Regions from separate parts of the Homo sapiens genome. Here region 2 is linked to region 1. The links are contacts of gene promoters, found by promoter capture Hi-C in blood cells and fetal thymus (Javierre and others, 2016). All regions are on one chromosome and are shown on one strand. The core of a region is centred on a gene start or on the middle of the fragment in contact, and the rest is flanking DNA. Distances in the headings are between cores, read along the strand shown. Region 1 holds the start of LPIN2 (lipin 2). Region 2 overlaps MYOM1 (myomesin 1).

Region 1 (7,157 bases), core at 1,905-4,404:
TCAGAGTAGAGGATGCTTAGAATTGGGCAGGACTAGAGGGTAGGGAGACCAGCTGGCATATTCCTACAATGGACCACAAGAGAAATGGCGAGGGCCTAATCACAAGCAGGGGTGAGTGGTGCGACAGAGGACCAAGAGTAGGAATCATGAGGAGGAATAATGAGGAGGAGTGATGGAAACAGCATGGGAGTAGAGGGAAATGAGACTCCCTCCTAGGTTTCTGGCAAGTATGTCTAAACAGATGACAGCGCCATCAGCCAGGATAGGAGATTCAGGTGGAGCAGGTTTGAAGAAGCACAAATAATGGGTTTGAATCTGACATCACTGTGGACCTTGCTGGTTGAGACGTTGAAAGCCACTGAGCACAGGCATGTAGAATTCAGAGGAGTTCCCACTAATGAGGGGAGGAGAGAGTTTCAAGAAGGAAATAATGATCAACAGCATCTTGCCCTGCAGAGATCATGAGGCATGGGACAGGAAAGGGGTCTGTTTTCTTCGGCAACCAGAAGGTCATAGTGACTTTAGCCTGAGCAGTTTCAGGGTTAGAGGAGGAGCAACCCTGTGAAGATGGGAGAAAACCTGAAACTCTTTCAGGTAGCTTGGGTGGGAAGAGAAGCTGTGTGATAAGTCGACAGCCTGAGGGGGAACGGAGGGGCCACAAAAGCTTCTTTTTCAAGTGCAGGAATGAAGCCAGAATTGAGGAAGAGGGGACAATTAGTGGAGTGAGGTTCCTCACCTTGGAGCTGGAAGGTGGTGGGTCAGAGGCCAGTTGAAGGAAGCGCTTTCTTCCTCTGACACTCCAGTGGAGTAGGTGGACCTGGGGTGGCCCCTCCACACTTCCTAGGGCAGGAGGTGAAGGGATTTATCATGCAACAAACATTTAATGAGTCACCACTTAAGTGGTAGTGTAAGCTGGTGGACACGGGAAAATGAGGAAAATATTAGCAATATGAACCAATCGTTCTGAGTGAGGTCTCAAACGCAAGGTTGTTTGGAGGAAGGGAGGGGAGCTCTAGGGCTTCCTGAATGATGAAAGGAAGGAAGGGAGCTTGGCAGAATATTTCCCTCCCAAGGCAGAGATAGAGAAAATAGCCTGAGAGAAACAGGAAAAGTCTAAGTGGGAGAAATGGAAGAAAGGAAAGAAAATAAACGCTAACAGCCTGTTCCAGGTTGCAGACACTAACGTAGGCACTTTATAGGTTATCACGGGGAATCCACAAAACAATTCTGTAAGAAAGACACTACTATCTTTATTTTACTGACGTAGAAACTGAGGATTAAATTCTTTCTCTAGCTTTAATTTTTCTTCTCCATATTTATAAAATCCATTGAATACGGAGGGGGATATTTTAGTCCTCTTCAATTTTTATTTTACTTGTGAAGCCAAGTGAGAAGCAGTGAAATGAGGAAAATTCCTAGTGGTCTTGTGCCAGTGAAACTACCTATGTTTCTGTAGGGCCTTGATTACAGATGGGGCAAAACTTGATCGAGTTTCACAGAAAAGCAGAAGGAACTTCAGTGAAGAAGTGGTCGCCTGCTCCCTGAATCCAAGCACTGCCCAGCTACACCAGGCACTGGTGGGAAGAAACTGGGCTGCAGCTGGATCCTTCAAGGAGCAGCTTTGTGTATGCAAATGCCTATTTCAGTACCCTTAGAACTGTATAAATGATCACACACAAGATGCACCTCATAAATTAACTGCCATTTATATAGAAGTAACATAGGCTTCTGTTCATTACTTTCAATCATAGAATAGTAATAGAATAGGCTGCAAATTAAAAACCAGTGTGCACCAATAGTATATAGCACCAGCAATCCAGTTTTTTTTGTTTTTTTTTTTTTTGAGACAGAGTTTCGCTCCCAGGCTGGAGTGAAGTGGCGCAATCTCTGCTCACTGCAACCTCCGCCCCCCGGGTTCAAGTGATTCTACCGCCTCTGCCTCCTAAGTAGCTGGGATTGCAGCCAACATGCCCGGCTAATTTTTGTATTTTTAGTAGAGGCGGGGTTTTGCCACGTTGGCCAGGCTAGTCTCCAACTCCTGACCTCAGGCGATCGACCCGCCTTGGCCTCCCAAAGTGCTGGGATTACCGGCGTGAGCCACCGCGCCGGGCCCCATTTCTTTTCTTTCTGAGACGGAGTCTCTCTGTCGCCAGGCTGGAGTGCAATAGCGCCATCTCGGCTCACTGCAATCTCCGCCTCCCGGGTTCAACTGATTCTCCTGCCTCAGCCTCCTGAGAAGCTGGGATTACAGGCACGCGCCACCACGCCCGGCTGGTTTTTTGTATTTTTAGTAGAGACGGGGGTTTCACCATGTTGGCCAGGCTGGTCTTGAACTCCTGACCTCAAGTGATCCGCCTGCCTCGGCCTTCCAAAGTGCTAGGATTACAGGCGTGAGCCACCCATTTCTTAAAAAGTATATTTTAATGCTGGGGACGGTGGCTCATGCCTGTAATTCCAGTACTTTGGGAGGCCGAGGTGCGGGGATGCTTGAGCCCAGGAGTTGGAGACCAGCCGGGGTAACAGAGCGATAAAAAGAATAAACAAAAAACAACAGAACCCCGGCATATTTTTAAAAATGAGTTGTGTAATAGGATTTTTTTTTTTTCGGTGGAGATGTAAGTAAGCAAAGGAGATGTGCTACTAGTGATCAAAAGGGGATTATAAAACATTCATTCCCTAGACTTTTTTTGCACTTTAACATTCCTTTTTGGCAATTGGGCTCTCAGTCCCACGTGACCTGCCGCAGGGTTGCCATGGGGACCGGAAGAAACTTTTTTTTTTTAAAACAAAGTAAGGCTCCTGTCGCCCGAGGCACTAGAAAATCGAGGCCCCGCCCTCACTTGGCCAGGGGCCCGGGCGCGCAGCCCAGGGACTGGGAGCGGTGAGAAGCCGCACGCCTGGCGCTCGGCGGCGGGGGCGCGGCGCGCGGCCGGGAGCGCGCGTCACGTGGCTGGGGCGGGGCCTGCGCGCTGCCCGCCCGCCAGCTGCCGGCTCGGCCGCCGCAGCCGCGGCGTCCCATTCATGAGGGCCGCCCGACTCAGCTGCGGCCCAGGCGGCTTCCAAGGCAGCGGCGGCTGCGGGCGCTCCGACCCCGCGCGCGCCCCCGACCGGCCCCGCCCCCTCGGCTTCCCTCCCCGGCGGGTCCTAGCCGTCGCAGTCCAGCCGCCGCCTGCCCTCAGCCGCCCGCTGGCCGGGAGCGGAGCCCCTGTGGGTAAGTGGGCGCGGGCCGGGCTCCTCGCAGGCGTCCCTCCGGGGCTGGCGGTGAGTGTCTGCGCCTGGGGGCTTCCCTTGGCGCGGGCCCGGGGCTGTCCTGCCGGAGGCCGGGACCCTCCGGGGCGGCGCGGGTTGAGCCGCCCCTCCTCGCGCCGCGGTCCCCGCTTCCCGGTCCTCGCGTCCCAGTCCCCGCCTCGCCGCGACCGCGCCACGTAGACGCGGCCCCTACCGCCGCCGCCGCAGGACGGACCGGCGGGGTGCGCGGGGAGCCGGGGGCGTCGGGGCGTCAGTGGTGGCTGCTGAGGACTCTGAACCCGCGCAGTTCCCTCGCCGCCGCCCTGGGGATGGTTACCCGAGACCACCCCTACCCCTGGGTTTGGGGCGCGGAGGGGAGTGCGGAAGGCGCGCGGGAGGCCGCGTCTCCATCCCGCCCCCGGCCCTGCGGGAGGGGGCGCCGGGCACGTGATCTGCGGCGAGGCGGGGGCCGCCGAGTTGCTGGTGTTTCTTCCCCGCCGCGCTTTGCCCCGTACCTCCGCCTTCAAGCTGTGTGGACCGGATTCAAATGTGGTTAGTTTTCTCAAAGCCCCCCAGCCCCCGGTGCAGATCTTAATTTGTGAGGAACACGTTCAGATACAGTTTGTACTGAGAGCCTCTCTGTCCACTTCTAACGCCAGCGGATCACCATTTTCTCCACTCGCCTGAACATTTTAAGACTCTTTTCATTGAAAATTCAAGATGACATTTTTTAGGCATAATTATGCAAACCAGTACCAGAAAGATCACCCTTCCTTTCCGAAAAGTACTGGAACTCTGAATACTTGGAAATGCTTTGAAGGACTACTTAGTAAATGGCCAAACTAATTTTTAATGCACATTTGGGGCTTACCCATTTTTTTTTTAATTGAAAACGAGGCTCTAGACTTGGTGTCAAGGTAGGTCCTGTTGAATGAAGTTCTTTACCCAGTAGTGATGATGGGTGTTACTGTTTATTAAAACTTGGCCTGGCTAGATTATAATGTTTTGACAATACAAAGTCGGTTTTGAAATACATTTTGAAATATTTACGAATTATTTAGTGGCCCATACTGGTTTATGTTTTAACGGTCTGGTGTTGATCGTTCTTAGTGGCTTCAGATTGAGAAGAAGTGGCAGGTGATGCTGAAGCGGGGGAGAAGCGGCAGAGCCGGCCACACAGTGCAGGGGATGGAGACAGGTGCTGGGCTGGTCCTCCTGCAGCATCCTCAGTTGTTGGAGGGCAGTCATCCTCAGGCCGTACCCAGCCAGAGAAGAAAAAGAACAGTGTGAAGCCACGTGTGATAGCCGTCCAACATCGGCTCTTCCCTCCAATTACATTGTAGTTGATTGTGGTATGTCAGACTGAAGTATCTCTTTTATTTCGAGACAGAGTCTCACTCTGTCGCCCAGGCTGGAGTGTAGTTGCGCGATCTCCGATCACTGCAATCTCTGCCTCCTCTGTTAAAGCGATTCTTGTGCCCCAGCCTCCCGAGTAGCTGGGATTACAGGCATGAGCCACCACACTCAGCTAATTTTTGTATTTTTATTAGAGACCGGGGGTTTCACCATGTTGGCCAGGCTGGTCTCGAACTGCCGACCTCAGGTGATCCGCCCCCCTCGGCCTCCCAAAGAGCTGGGATTACAGGCGTGAGCAACCGCCCCAGCCAGACTTAAGGTATCTCCATGCCCAACTTTTGATAGAGGTAGCCATAGAAAGCTAGAAATGAAACGACAGGTTCTGTTTTAACGTTTGATGGCACAGTCGAGAGTCAATAGGCACGCATTATGCTTAAGAGAAGCTGGAAATGAAGTGTTTGAAAACCCTTTAATACTATAGTAAAGCACTGTTAAGAAGCAAATAATAGAGTCAGCTGGGGCTTTGTCTTCTTTATTGCTAGGAGAATGTAGCAATAGAAGTTCTCATCGCCCTGTATTGCACTTTTGGTTTTAAGGACTGGACCCAGAGTTCCTGAAAGCCAAACTCCATAGCTGCTCAGTAAGTTCCAAGCACATAGCCGGCTTTGGGATGCGATTCGGTCGAGGTCTGTTGAATGAAGGTAGACGCAGCAGGCAGTTTGTCCTTACCAGTGACCTGGAAGACGGTGGCACTTCCTGAGTGAGCTCACTTACCTTCCCTGAATGGTGAGGCATGGATGAATATTCCTGGTGGTGCCACGTGTTAGAGGTGGTAAAGGGTCAAATGTTTACTTTTATTAATATTACATTATGGCTTGGTTCTCTGTGTCAGCGATTTTTCTATGCCTTGGGTACTTATTTCCTAATATATATCAGCACAGTAACGCCTAGCTGGAGGCTTTGTCTTGTTAGTTGATAGATTAGTGGTAACAGGTAGATTTGGTTATCTCCCGTAGGTGCTTAGCAATTTACATCAAGAGGCTTTTCTTTAAGTCTGATTTAAGTCTTTCCATCTTTAATTTAAATCCATTTCTTTTTACTCCGACCCCAGTGACTGTCGTTGAGTGTGTATTTGCCCGACTTGCCGTGCCAGATTGGTAGGCAGTGGTTTGGAATCTTCATTTTAAAATCCTGTTTTTCTCTCTCCAATACCCTTCACTGCTTGGTAAGTTTTTATACTTCTCAATGAGACCCAGAGTCTCGTGACCTACCATTTGCCTCCTTCATGATGAAACAACTCACAAGTTGGTAGATAGCCTCCAGTTGGCAGAATCCTATGTATAATGTGTCTTTAAAACTTGAAGAGTTTGAAGGTATTATAGCCTGGAGCAGTAAGTTTTATGGCTATACCTTGGTAATAAGACATTTGAATAACTTGGCTTAGCGGCTTTGGTAATTAACTGTGATTTTTGGAATCCACCTCCCCTGCTGTCAGCTTGAATCTTCATTTTAGTAACACACTATTACTAACACTAAACGCTTATTACATGTGTGTTTCAAGACAAGCGTGAGGGAGTTGCTCACCCTGGGGTCCAAATGAAGCAGTCAGTGGCAACCCATGTGTAGTGGGGAATGGCCAGAATCCTGCCGGGGCCACTTGGTGGGCTGCCTTGCTCTTGATTTTCAGCAGGAAGCTGGTGGAAGCTGGGGTTGGGCATCTGTCTCTGCTCAACTTCTCAGTCAGAAAGGAAGGAGAAGAAAAAAAAATCTGTTGGGAGGTAAACTGTGTTTTAATACAAGATAAAACTCTTAATGTCACTTTCAGGATTAAAATGATGATAAAGTAAACATTTTTACTAATTTGATTCACTGACTGCAATTCAGTCTTTTTCTGCTAAAGCCTTTGAATGTTGTATTTCGGTGATCAGGTTTGTCAGTTTATGTTAAAATTGTTAACAAGAAATGAGGAAGAAGGCTGGGTGCGGTGGTTCACGCCTGTAATCCCAGCACTTTGGGAGGCCGAGGCGGGCGGATCACCTGAGGTCAGGAATTCGAGACCAGCCTGGCCAACGTGGTGAAACCCTGTCTCTACTAAAAATACAAAAGAATTAGCCAGGTGTGGTTATGCATGCCTGTAGACCCAGCTACTCTGGAGGCTGAGGCAGGAGAATCATTTGAACCTGGGAGGCAGAAGTTGCAGTGAGCCGAGATTGTGTCACTGCACTCCAGCCTGGGTGACAGAGCGAGACTCTGTCTCAAAAAACAAACAAACAAAAAATGGTACTTATTTTTATAATCTTTGAATTTAGAATTTTACTAGTGTTTTTTTGTTTGTAACCCAGGCTGGAGTGCAGTGTCATGATCTCGGCTGACTGCAACCTCCGCCTCCCAGGTTCAAGCAATTCTCCTGCCTCAGCCTCCTGAGTAGCTGGGACTACAGGCACGTGCCACCACACCTGGCTAATTTTTTGTATTTTTAGGAGAGACAGGGTTTCACTGTGTTAGCCAGAATAGTGTTGATCTCCTGACCTCGTGATCCTCCTGCCTTGGCCTCCCAAAGTGCTGGGATTACA
Region 2 (7,036 bases), core at 2,638-5,137, 98 kb before region 1:
TGAAGCGAAACAAAGGTGAAGAAGCAAACAAAAAGAAAAAAAAAAGTAGAGTTTAAATGTGTGAAAGAATGGTTAATGTCACTCATTTTTAAAAAGAAAAAGAATAACGGGAATTTTAACAGAGAGACAGAGAGAGAAAGAGAGACTGAGGTTAAGTATACCTAACAAACCTGGAAGTGAACTTCCGTAAGGAGAGTTCTTACATTTTATCAACAGTTTTTATAAAGTGAAAATAATCTTTTTTTATTTTTCTGATTATAAAACTAACAATTTAAATGAAAAATTCAAACATAAGAAGCACAAAGAAGAAAGTAGGCCAGGCACGGTGACTCATGCCTATAATCCCAGGGCTTTGGGAGGCCAAGGCAGGCAAATCACTTGAGCCCAGGAGTTCAAGACCATGGGAAACATGGCAAAACCCTGTCTCTAAAAAAAAAAAAAAAAAAAAAAAAATTAGCTGACCATGGTGGCATGTGCCTGTATTCCCAGCTACTCAGGAGGCTGAGATGGGAGGATTGCTTGAACCAGGGAGGCGGAAGCTGCAGTGAGCTGTGATTGCACCACTGCACTCCAGCCCGGGCAACAGAACGAGACTCTGTCTCGAAAAAAAAAAAAAAGGGAAAATAGATCTGCATCGATGATCTCGATTACGTATTTGTGGTACTGTTGAGGCCAGTGGTCATTGCCCCTGTGGTGATGGAAGAGCAGAGAGTGCCCCTGTCACCCCAGGGACCAGACACTGGAATATGAACAGACTTCCTGTACATGTTGCAGAAATCTGACTCACAGCCATACATCATCACCTAGGTGGCAGGTGCAGATGTGTCAGGTACCTGGCGATTACTCTATTTTTATTACACGGAAATGTTTCTGTGTTCTTCTGGAAATCCACAGTTTCCTGGCATTATTTCTAAACATAGAATTTAAATATGTCAGGCTCTATACATTTAACCTATAACTAAGTTAAAGTTCATTTACAGAATAAAATCCATTTCAAAAATCCGTTAGTGCCAGTGAGGGCTATTACTACATAAATAGTGACATTCTGCTGTAAACAAATACAATTAGTTAGATTAAAAACCTAACAATTTAATACGTACCTCATTTAAATACATGGTCACAAACACTTCACATAATTGAATAACTTTATTCCAACATTGTTTGATTTAAATCACATTTTGGATATTGGTCTCTATCACATCTTGGGGAAAAATTATGCCCTCTGTGTAATAAATTCCTTCTTATAACATAGCTTTTAAAAGTCACATGTTTTTAAAATAAAAATGTTGATAAAACATTAACAGTATTGGTAATAGTAATGAGATTATTCAAAACCCAAAGAAAGTTACAAAAAATTAAGTAGGAAACCAGGCATGGTGGCTCACTCCTGTAATCCCAACACTGTGGGAGGCTGAGGTGGGAAAATTGCTTGAGCCCAGGAGTTTGAGACCAGCCTGGGCAACATGGAGAAATCCCGTATCTATAAAAAAAATTGTTTTTAGGTAGCCTGGTGTGCTGGCACATGTCTGTGGTCCCAACTATTCAAGAGGCTGAGGCAGGAGGATTGCTTGATCCCAGGAGGTCCAGGCTACAGTGAGCTGAGATTGTGCCACTGTACTCCGCCTGAGCAACAGAGTGAAACTCTGTCTCAGAAATACATACATATATATATATATATATATATATATATATATATATAGACACAAACACATACACACATATATATACATACACATATACACACATAGATGTGTGTGTATATATATATACATGTGTGTATATATATATACATGTGTGTATATATGTATGTGTGTGTATATATACATGAAGTGGGACTGTCATACAAAAATAAATTATAAATGCTTTTTTTTTACAGCTCTTAGTAATTCTAGTTTAGTGGCACATATGTAGTGGATTCTCAGCACACATCTTGATCATTAAAAACTTGAGGATTTAGAATTTTAATACACTTTGGTTATTCACAAATTATTCAAACTCACAATTGTGTTAATTTCATGTCTATTTAGTAAGAAATAGCTATATTAAATTTACAGGAACAATTATTGTTTGTTTTGGTTTTAGTAGTTTAACATGCTTTTAAACAAATGGAAAGTGTTCATGATTCATGCTTTTAATTCTCCTCTTTTGCCAAGAATTCCATCTGAAATTATTCATGGAATGTCTCAAAAGGATTGGGGGGAAAAGCGACATATATGCTATAATGAGCACTTTGTATTTTGTCCTTTTGACCAAAGAATACAGTGGCTAACGCATGTGACACCTACGTACACTAGTCTCTGTTTCTGATGTTGGTGGCCACTAAATTAACTAAAAAGGAGAAACATCAAAGTGAGAATGGATATTGGAAACTCCTCTCTATCTACAGATGGTCTAGAGAGAAGACCATCTACAGCTAAAGTCACCTGCGTAGTGTTTGACAGAATCAAATCTAGACCACAAGTCTTGTATCCCTGGTGCTAGGTCACTAAATCATTACTACAGAGGAAGAGCCCCGTCTGTTTAAATGACATAAAACAGCCACTGCTTCATCAAACACCCATTGCTTCTACACCTGCTTCTACCAGGTTCGAGGCCTCAAGGAGGGCGTCAGCTACGTGTTCCGTGTTCGAGCCATAAACCAGGCGGGAGTTGGGAAGCCATCTGACCTTGCTGGCCCTGTTGTGGCAGAGACCCGTCCAGGTGGGCTTTCACCTTTTCATTAAAACTAATCCTATCTGTGTAAGATACTGAACTAAGGTTCGGCCTTTCTGTGCTTTCCTCTAATTTTCAAAACAATCAATGTGTGCTATCTGAATATAATTGATAAGTAATGATCTTAGAACATGACAGTCATTGGTCCCATCACAGGCACCTCAGGACAGGGTTGAGCCAGGTTTGACGTGGTCTAGGGGCTGTTCTGATGCATACCTAAAAACCCGGAAGTTCTTGATCAAGTTAAGCTTCCCGGACCAACTGTTCCAAGCATTCATTCCTGGAATGTTATTCCTATTACACCCTGGCCATTAAGTCTCATAAGAATATTTTCCCAATCATAGGGGAAGCTAGAACAGCCCAGCTAGTGGGCACAATCCTTAAACGAAAGTAGGATTTATGTAATTGTAGCTATTATGTTTAAACCAGAGGTCAGCAAACTTTTTCTGTGGAGGGCCAGATAATATTTATCACTCAACAGCCCTGTGGTCTCTGTCACAACTTCTTAACTCTGCCATGACACAAAAGAAGCCATTGAGGATACATAAACTAATGAGCATGGCTGTGTTCTAATAAAACTTTATCATGCACATTATATGTATTATATAATGTGATGCGTTATATGCATTATAAAATTTCAATCTTGTATAATTTTCCTGTGTTTTGAAATAGTAATCTTCTTTCAATTTTTTCAACTATTTAAAAATATAAAAACCATTCTTAGCTTGCAGCCCTTGCAAAAAGAGGTAATGGGCCAGATTTAGCCCACAGGCCATAGTTTGCTGACCCCTGGGCTAAACTAACAGTGGTCCCAACTGAATGGTTTATAGATTCGAGGCAGCCCTCATTTCCCAGTTTCAAAGATGCCGTGATTACTAGAGAAGACAGACTTGCCGTTTCTTATGAGAACAGAGTTTACTGTGTTCATTGTCCAACGAGTTTCAGATCATTACATAATAATTTCTTTTATCATTTAACCTGTATTATTTTTCAACGTTATCATATATTTCAGTTCATTAAAGTTACATAAAGGAAAGCACCGGAGGCCAGGCACTGTGGCTCATGTCTGTAATCCCAACACTTTGGGCAGCTGAGGCTGGAGGAACCTAGGAATTCGAGAGCAGCCTGGGCAACTTGGCAGAACCCCACCTCTACCAAATTTTTAAATTAGCTGGATGTGGTGGTGAGTGCCTGTAATCCTAGCTGCTCGGGAGGCTGAGGCAGGAAAATCGCGTGAACCCAGGAGGCAGAGGTTGCAGTGAGCTGAGATTGTGCCATTGCACTCCATCCCAGGCGACAGTGAGAGACTCCATCCCAAAAAAAGAAAGAAAATTTAAAAAAGAAAACTGCACTTGTATTTGCTTGCTAACTGATCTCTTTCATCTGCTAGAACCGTAGTTTTCAATCTTGCCTGTACATTAGAATCATACGAGGACTGTTTTGAAAATACTGCTATCTGGACTCAACTCCAGACCAATTAAATCAGGATCTTTAGGGCTGATGGGATGATGACAGAAGATCAGATATTCTAAAAAAAAAAAAAAAGAAAAAAAAGAATCTCTTAGGCTGGGTACCTGAACATAGGCTTATTGCTGTTTGTTTGTTTACTTAGCAATTTGGGTAATTCCAGTGTGAAAACAGGCTTGTGAACTGTACTTTAGACCATAGCTCCTCAAAATAGGAACTGTGTCTTTTCTGTACATGTGCTGAGAGTCTAACATAGTACCAGGTATATAATAGCTAATTTATTAAATGAAAAAATAATGAATGACTAGCATGTTTGCCAGTGAGTGTGACACTGTCTTGAAGCCTCAGTGTGTGCACTTCACCCCAGTCGTCTTGTACTGCCTGCCCTGGTTATGATGGGTGAGCTGGGGAAGAAATGTCTGGTGGAGGCTCCAAGGTGGGCATGAGGCTGAATGGTCAGCCGCCAGTCCTCGTCTGAAACCCAGGGCAGCTCAGTACTACACGTGACCCATTACATTAACTCACTTTCCTCTGCTTCTATTCTGTCCCATGCTTCAGTTTTTTAAACATCACCACACACACACGCACACCCCCACGCACACCCACAGCATGGAGAACAAATAATTAAAGCTTATAAAAGTGATATATTCATGCTCATGTAAAACACTTTATATGAGAAAGAATTATCATATCAGATTACAAAATGTATAGGAACGTGAACAGTTTACTGTGATTTTATTTAAGCTTTTAAATTTTATCCTTTATTATCATTTTTTGTGGGGAAGAGAAAGAAAAGTGGGATGAAATGAGTTAATTTCCAAATAGTTCATTTTAGTCCTGAGCCACACTTGAACCCATTAGGATACCAGGAGTTCTGGGCAAGCCTTGGAGGGATCATTGGAATGCTGTCTTGGCCCTGTAATCCCAACACTTTGGGAGTCCAGATAGGAGGATCACTTGAGCCCAGGAGTTGGAGACCACCCTGAGCAACATAGTGGGACCTGTCTCTATTAGAAAAGAATAGGAAAGAAAAAATAATAATAATAGTAATGTAAAATGAGATCTGTTAAAATCAGTTATCTCTGTGTCTGTATTAAGGATTCGCTTAGGTTGAGGAGTTGACTAGTGACAACTCTTCTTAAATCCTTTTTAGGCAACAACGACAACAACTCTCTCATGTTCTATACATAAACCTCCTGAGATCTTAGTTAAGTTCTTCACATTCATGAGCAGGTTAAGAGGTTGTTTCTGAGAAAATCTAAGTTATGCCAAATTTTGGTCCACTTTTCCAGCCCAACTTTGTGGGAAAGTGGGATGGCCTCTCATCTGGATAAGAATACCACAAAGACCACTTTACTTTGATAGCAGAACATCAAACTTGCTTCCTGCCCATTAATTATCAGAACCACATCCCTCAATCAACTTGAGAGAATATGCCTCTTTAGGCATTTCTCAGAGTTCAACCATAATTAATTGATAGGAGCTCAGCTCTGGAAAACCTCAGCTAAGTTGTGGGATATTCTAAAGAGAAAATTTGGCTAGGTACGGTGATTCACGCCTGTAATCCCAGCACTTTGGGAGGCCAAGGCGGGCGGATTACCTGAGGTCAGGGGTTCGAGACTAGCCTGGCCAACATGGTGAAACCCCATCTCTACTAAAAATACAAAAAAAATTAGCTGGGCGTGTGGCGGGCATCTGTAATCCCAGCTTCTCAGGAGGATAAGGCAGGAGAATCACTTGAACCTGGGAGGCAGAGGTCACAGTGAGCCAAGATCACATCACTGCACTCCAGCCTGGGCAACAGAGCAAGACTCCATCTCAAAAAAAAAAAGGAAAAAGAAAAAGGAAAATTTGAGGAGGATGTTATAGGTAGACTTTTCTGTCAGGCTTTTTCTGTGATATTGTACCAAGTTAATCTCCACAAGGCACTACCTGGTGGGTTAGCCTGGGGCATGTTAGAAATTCTGAAATGCTGTCATTGGCCGGACACGGTGCCTCACGCCTATTATCCCAGCACTTTGGGAGGCCAAGACAGGCGGATCACAAGGTCAGGAGTTCGAGATCAGCCTGGCCAACATGGTGAAACCCTGTTTCTACTGAAAATACAAAAATTAGCTGGGTGTGGTGGTCCGCACCTGTAATCCCAGCTACTTGGGAGACTGAGGCAGAATTGCTTGGACCCAGGAGGTGGAGGTTGCAGTGAGCTGAGATCACGCCACTGCACTCCAGCCTGGGTGACAGAGCAAGACTCCATCTCGAAAAAAAAAAAATGCTGTCATTGCTTTATAGGCTAATATATGGGCTTTGGTTTTGCTAGGGCATCTATAGAAAGAATCATCCATTTGAGTATCATGTACCTTTTGTTAAATTGCAATAGAATTTTTTGTCTACTATGTACAGGACCCTTATTTAAATAATTATTTAATTCCTCATCAAATTTATCAAGGAGGAGATCCAGCTTCAAATTCTGAGTATAAAATTAAGTAGGAAACCCACTGCCACTAGAATATTTTCTTTGTTAGTGTAATCGCCCATTAGGTTCTCCCTTCCCACTGCATAGACAAAATCAATCCACTGCGACTGCAGCATTGCAGTTGAGAATTTAATTGACCTGAGGCCAGCTGAAGCGAGAGACCTAGAGTTATCAGTCAAATCAGTCTCCCTGAAGGCTCAGAGGTTCTTTGAGTAAGGGCATTTTTTTAAGAGTGACTTAGAAGACCAAGATGCCTACAATGGGGAAAGTAAATTGAGTCACAAGTCAGGAGTCTGGGTGGGGTCAGTCTTAAAAACATCTAAAAGAAAACAATCTTAGGTTCTACAATACTGATGTTATCTATAGGAGCAACTGGGAAGCTCA

The links. Contacts are between HindIII fragments. The CHiCAGO score rates a contact against its expected background, and 5 or more counts as called.
Region 2: a fragment that was not itself captured here is called in contact with the fragment with the promoter of LPIN2 in region 1 in 9 of 17 cell types (naive CD8 T cells, naive CD4 T cells, total CD4 T cells and 6 more); the score reaches 16.3 in naive CD8 T cells.

The regions. Positions count from the first base shown.
Region 1 is chr18:3,009,141-3,016,297 of GRCh38, reverse strand. It overlaps LPIN2 (lipin 2), which reads left to right and starts at 3,154. Exons shown (of 20, transcript NM_001375808.2): 1 at 3,154-3,211. RefSeq lists a silencer at 2,764-3,713. The HindIII fragment of the contact is 8,581 bases long and covers 667-7,157 here.
Region 2 is chr18:3,107,962-3,114,997 of GRCh38, reverse strand. It overlaps MYOM1 (myomesin 1), which reads left to right. Exons shown (of 38, transcript NM_003803.4): 22 at 2,586-2,700. Among named protein-coding and RNA genes, the nearest start is that of LPIN2, 98 kb to the right of the region's middle. The HindIII fragment of the contact is 1,849 bases long and covers 2,963-4,811 here.